Linked DNA regions of Homo sapiens: region 1 is linked to region 2. The links are contacts of gene promoters, found by promoter capture Hi-C in human tissues and cell types (Jung and others, 2019). All regions are on one chromosome and are shown on one strand. The core of a region is centred on a gene start or on the middle of the fragment in contact, and the rest is flanking DNA. Distances in the headings are between cores, read along the strand shown.

Region 1 (3,324 bases), core at 437-2,936, 370 kb before region 2:
GGAGAAAACAAACTTTAGGCTGTAAGTGTGACTGTATAAAAATCCCTGAGAGGATGAATTATGAAACTAAACTCCATGCAACAGGGCTAACTATGTAGCTGCTTTTCCACTTGCCTAATGGCCCAAGACAAATAGAGCAGGGCCATCCAGGAGTCCCAACAACTTCCAGGAAAATGGAACCAACGTCCTCCTGTCTCAGAACAAGCCACATACCCCCTGAAAGTAACCCCTAAGTGAAATCCATATAGATCTGCTTTGAAAATCACTCTGGCTGGCAACAATTAAGGCCCACTCCTTCAAACAATTCCAATTTGTATGGGAAAAAGCTTCTTAAAAGAAAAAAAAAAGCAATTGAAAGAAATTTCTATGAGCCTCTGCCCAAAAGTATTCCAACTCAAGCAACTGCTGCAGGCCACATTCAGACACCCCCAGTCTCCCCAGGCCCTGTCTGTAGTTCCTCTAGTTTTACTCACATAGCTTCTGCCTCCACCCCAATCCCCAGAGCTAGGAGAGTCCCACGGCCACACCACCCATCCCTCATGATAAATCATGCTTTGCTTGTGGTATTTCCAGTTAGAATCTGACAAAAATCAATGCAGCCAGAAAAAAAAAATACATCAACAATATGCCTCCTCAAAAACCACATGCCTGGAATAAAATATCCAATACCCAGTGCAAAATCTCTCTTCTTCAACAACGGAGAAACCAAGGAACCAGCCTATACATGGGAAAAATCCCACACACCAAGGTGTTACCTGGGGACCTAAGTCCCTAAGAAAACCCACGTCTTATGGCTGAACACACCCATGTGGAAGTCTAAACCTCAAAGGCTGTTTTCCACCCTTGGGAAAACAGGTTTTTAAGCAGTTATTCCATCACCATCATTTGACAATTCAAGAATGTCATCTACTTCATAAGTGGTATTTATCATGTGTCCTGTGCCTTGAATTTTTGGCAGAAATTTCTAGATGCCACGTAAGTGCAGGACATGTCAGAAGGAAGTGATATATTACAGGCTGCTCTCTCTCATTCCCTTCTCAGAATTCTCTTTATTCATTTAGAATAGAAAAGGCCAGAGGCACTATGAAGTACAATCATTTGCAGCTAAAGAGGTCCCTACTAAACTGGCTGGAACAGGCAAGGATTATACAGGACCCCAAACCAGAAGCTGAAAGTGAAGTCGGAGGGGAGAACAACAGCCAGAGAGAATTCTTATAAAATACTTCTATGAATCTATCGCCAAGGCTGAGATTTAAAGGAACACTATCAGACTTCCTTATTTTCAAACATATCCAATATGAGTGATGTGAAAAATACCATGTATTGTGAAGTGTCTCCGCTTGGTATTTTCCCCAGATCCATAAAAACATGTTACAGTGCCGGGCACGTGGCTCATGCCTGTAATCCCAGCACTTTGCAAGCCGAGGCGGGTGGATCATGATGTCAGGAGTTCGAGACCAGCCTGGCCAACATGGTGAAACCCTGTCTCTACTAAAAATACAAAAATTAGCTAGGCTTGGTGGTGGGTGCCTGTAAATCCCAGCTACTCGGGAGGCTGAGGTAGGAGAATTGTTTGAACCCGGGAGGCGGAGGTTGCAGTGAGCCGAGATCATGCCATGGCACTCCAGCCTGGGCAAGAAGAGCAAAAACTCGGTCTCAAAAAAAATAAAAAATAAAAAATAAAGCTATAGTATCCGATGAAATTCACTGGTTGAGAAGAGAAAGGTTAAGGTCCCTAGCTGATCAAATAGTTCTCACCCCAAATGGTGGTAATACATGCGAACTGCTACACTCCAGAATCCTGCAGCAGCACTGTAAAAAGGTAAATCAACAGCCTGCTCCAGCGAACTGGAACAGGTTGGCTCTAATTGCCTCTCTCACTTGTGTGGTTCCTCTTTTCTCCTTAACCACACTATCACAAAGGAGCTTTTTACATATACACACGTGCACTCAATTAATATCTGAACACAGGAAACTAAATATCAGGTTGCTATGCCTACCCAACACATTCTGCAGTTAAATTCTACCCCAGCTTCTGTTTTCAGAGACCCCTCTCTCACCTTTAACCCTGATATCAATGAAAAGATCAGGTTAACATTCACATATCACACAACATGCAGTCTTCACAGGGGATAGAAAGCAGACCAAGGGCCAGACCCCCCAGGGAAAATCTGGATAAACAATTAAAGCCATCTGCAGGCCCCAACTGAGAAGCAGGAAGACAAAGTTCAATTTAACAAAAATGGACAGTTTCTTGACTACTTGGGCCCAGGCATGGTGCTTAATCCTACAGATTCCTAAGGATCTCACAGTCTGGGTAAGCGTGGTGGGGCAGACATTCAATCAAGTATTAATCTAAAAAGTCCTTTAACAGAGCTATAGACATGATGTCTTGGAAGACAGCAGGAGTGTGGGAGACATGGGAATAGTCACAAAAGGCATCCAGGAGGAATCAATATCCAAACTCATTATTAAAGATTGAGCCTTACAAATGTGGGGGTAGAAGAGATGAAGCAGGAACTTTGGGTAGAAGGGAAAGGAACAAAAGCACAGAGGTATTCATTAGCTGGGTGGCACCACATGCTAAGAAAACTATAAGCCACTGGACATGGACTTGGAGGTGGAATGTGGAAAGAGACGGAGCTTGAAAGTTACGCAGAAGTCAGGCCAAACAAGAGAACAGACAATCCTGAGAAAAAACACAAGCTCTCAAAAGATTTTAAGCGTGGAGTAACAAATTGACTCTTTTGTTTTATTTTTGAGACAGAGTCTCACTCTGTCATCCAGGCTGAAGTGCAGTGGCTCGATCTCTCCTCATTGCAACCTCCACCTCCTGGGTTCAAACAATTCTCCTGCCTCAGCCTCCCAAGTAGCTGGGATTACAGGCATGCGCCACCACGCCCAGCTAATTTTTGTATTTTTAGTAGAAACAGGGTTTCATCATGTTGGCCAGGCTGGTCTCGAACTTCTGACCTCAAGTCATCTGCCCGCCTCAGCCTCCCAAAGTGCTGGGATTACAGGCATGAGCCACCGCACCTGGCCAGATTGGCTCTTTTAGATAGATCACTGTGTTAGCAGTCTGGAGAGCGGGTTTGAAGAGACTGAAAAGGGACCACAAGAGACAACACAAAGGCATCCCAGCTCAATTTCCATAGACAAAATGAGAACAAAAAGTGCCACTTTTGAACCAACATACGTAACAAAACTTATAAAATTTGAAACACGACATTTTTACTGTTCCTGCCTTCCATGTACCACTAAAACAGCCAGTGAATCTGTCACCCACCCTCCCAACAGAGATCCCACGGGTTCTAAGAAATCCAC
Region 2 (2,891 bases), core at 223-2,722:
GCTGCACGGAGAAGGAGCTAAGGCTCTCTTCCCTTTCCACGGTTACTCATCAGTCACTTTGAAATCCTGTTAAACCCAGAAAAGGGCGCAGTGAACCGAGAAGTGGCTGGGCCTCTCAACTGCCCGGTGGAGACAGCCGCCTGCCTCTACGACCTGGGACTTCCCAAGGAGTCTTCTCTCCACACCGGCTGGGTGGGGCCGTGCGCTCACCCTGCCCCCCACCACAGGACAGCCGGCAAGCTAGTGCTGGGGGTGCTGAGTCTCAGTTTGAAACAGCGGGGCTTCCCTGGAGAATGAGGGTGCCGCAGTCCTGTCTCCTGTGCGTGGCCCCAGAACAGGATGGGGTGAGGACCCCAGCACAGGGAAGCGGGTGCGTGGAGTGGAGAATAGAAAACTCCGATTTGGCTCAAACAGGAAAGATGCAATCGCCCAGGCCTGCTCGTAACGGCAGAGCTAGCTGCCCCCGCACCCCGCCCAGACGGGATGGCCCCTGGGTGCGGTGGAATCAGGTGCACGCCTGGGCGGCCCCGACGGCTGCTGCATTCCGGGCCTCCCTCCCCCGAGGATCAGAAGTCGGAGGTCGAGGGCTGGAGCAGGGACTGGGGGTGGCCCTTCCTGTCTCGCGCCCGGGTCCCCGCCGGGTCCCCCTTGTCCGGGCAGCCGCCGCACCTCCCCCGGGCCCTCCCCGACCAGTCCGACGGCAGCGGGCGAATGAGGAAGTCGGCCGCGGAGGCGGAAACCGGGCCGGGTGCAAGGTCTGCAGCGGGACGGTCCGACTCTGACTCAGGAGGACGCCCTGACAGCTGCCAAACGGTGCCCGCTGCCCGTTACCTCCGTGCCTCAGACGCCAGAAACTTCCACGGGAGCGGCTGCCCCGGGCTCCCAACCCGTGAGGCTGCGTCCCAGGGGCCGCGGCTCCCGGAAGGGGTTAAAAAGTTTGCCCGAGTCGGGCCTGGGCGAGGCGAGGGCGGGGCGCGTGCCCCAGCGGCTGGGGGAGGTCGGCTCCAGTGCCCAGTCCTGAGACCGCGCCGGGGGACACGGGGGGCGCCGGGGAGCGCCGGGTCCCGAGGCCGCCCCTGCACCCCTAGGCCTCGCTGCTGCCGGCGCCCTCCCCGAGCGCCCGCGTGGGGGTCCCGGTCCCCCTGGGAAGGATGCGGTGCCGGGCCCTGAGCCGCCGGCGTTCGCCCCCGCCCGCGCGGGTGGCGGGCCGCACTGAGCCCAAGAACCACCAGTCGGCCTGGCGGCAGCGCGTCTCGCCCCCGCCCGCCCGCCGCCGCCTGCCCGGGGCGGGACCGCGGTGGGGCTCGCTCACCTGAACCTGGATCTGCCCCGGGAACAGGCGCTGCTTCTCCCGAGAGGACTTTCTCGAGCGCTCGGGCGGCGGCCGGGTGGGGCGAGCGCACGAGGCGGGAGCTGCAGCAGGTCAGCCTTGCTTAGCCTTCCGTGCCCTGCCCAGGAACCGCGGTGATCTGCGCGCCTCACCGCACCCAGCTCGGCTCCTCGCCGCCTTCCCGCCCCGCCCTCGGAGCCGCGGGACCATTCCCAGCCGGGAGCCGGCTCCGGGGCGGAGCCTGGGGCACAATCCCGCCCCCTTCCTGCTACACCCACTGCAGGCCGCGCCTGGCCTTGATGGGCAGACGTATTGGCCTGTGGAAAGGGGGTGGGCGGAGCCTCTGCGGCCAGATGGGTGGGGATTCAACATCCTCTTTCCGCCCCACCTCCACCCGCTCCACCTTCCCCCGCGCTTCCTAGGCGGGAGCCCCGCCCTCTAGGGCGGGTCCAACGGACAGCCAGGTTCTAGGACAAGGATTGACACAGGGGGAATCCAATCAGGAGGCGGCGACTCGGGGCGCGGAGAGCTCCGGGCCGGGGTTTTGGTGCCTTGCCTGGGCCGGGGCGAGGCCCTGCGGGAGCCGACTGGGAAGGTCTGGAACTCTGACACCCCGCCCCGCGAGCTGTGCTCTCAGTCTCATGTCATCCCACCACAAGGACAGATATTAAGTACCATATATGGGAAAAATGCTATTTTACATAATTATGATCCCTGTGGGGGCGGGCATGGACTCAGCCCTGGATTCCATTGTGAGCGTCTTGAGTTCGATTCCTGACCCTGCCTCTTTAGGATCCGCACGTTGCTGCCTTTCAGCCTCCAAACCTTCGCTCTGGCCGTTCTCTCCACCTGGAATACCCTTCCGAGCCTCTCTTCACCTCCATGTCATTAACTCGCATACATCCTTTCAGGTACTTGTTACAAATTGCACTTTTTTTTTGTTACTGTCCACTACAAGAGGATAAAAAATGTTTTCATTTTTAAATGAAAAATCTTTTGATCCATTTGGAATTTATTTTTGGGGTAAGGAAGAAACCTAAGATAATTTTTGTAATAGCCACTTGTCCAAACACTGTTTTCTCCACTGATTTTAGTTGGCACCTTCATCGCCTATAGAACTATTATACTTGAAGCTGTTTCTGACTTGTATACATTGATCTCTCTGTGTGCACCTGTGCCAATCCCACCATGCTTTAATGAAGATACCTTTATAATACATTCTATATCTATGAGGGCAAATTTCTCATCATTACTCTTTCTTACTGGAATGTGCTTGCTATCATGACTATTCTTCCAAATTAACTTCAGAAAAAAGCTATGTTCTAAAGGCAAAAGAAAGCTGGGAAAAAAAGATTTTGCAACTCTGTGACAAATTACTATCAGCAATATATAAAGATCTCTTCCCAGTTGATAAGAAAAACCTCGGCCGGGCGCGTGGCTCATGCCTGTAATCCCAACATTTTGGGAGGCCGAGGCGGGCGGATCACCTGAGGTTGGGAGTTCAAGGGCAGCCTGACCAACGTGGAGAAACCCCGTCTCTACTAAAAATACAAAATAATTA

Evidence for each region. Contacts are between HindIII fragments. The study calls those that stand out against the background at their distance.
Region 1: a contact is called between a fragment that was not itself captured here and the fragment with the promoter of MYH9 in region 2, in 1 of the 25 tissues and cell types used here (dorsolateral prefrontal cortex).

Annotation. Positions count from the first base shown.
Region 1 is chr22:36,015,872-36,019,195 of GRCh38, forward strand. The region is part of intron 1 of RBFOX2 (RNA binding fox-1 homolog 2); the gene reads right to left. Among named protein-coding and RNA genes, the nearest start is that of RBFOX2, 11 kb to the right of the region's middle. The HindIII fragment of the contact is 5,046 bases long and covers 1-3,324 here.
Region 2 is chr22:36,386,495-36,389,385 of GRCh38, forward strand. MYH9 (myosin heavy chain 9) reads right to left here and starts at 1,473. Exons shown (of 41, transcript NM_002473.6): 1 at 1,313-1,473. It overlaps MYH9-DT (MYH9 divergent transcript), which reads left to right and starts at 2,100. Exons shown (of 3, transcript NR_183573.1): 1 at 2,100-2,241. RefSeq lists enhancers at 1-59, 1,490-1,784 and silencers at 497-726, 1,007-1,086, 1,117-1,696. The HindIII fragment of the contact is 20,760 bases long and covers 1-2,891 here.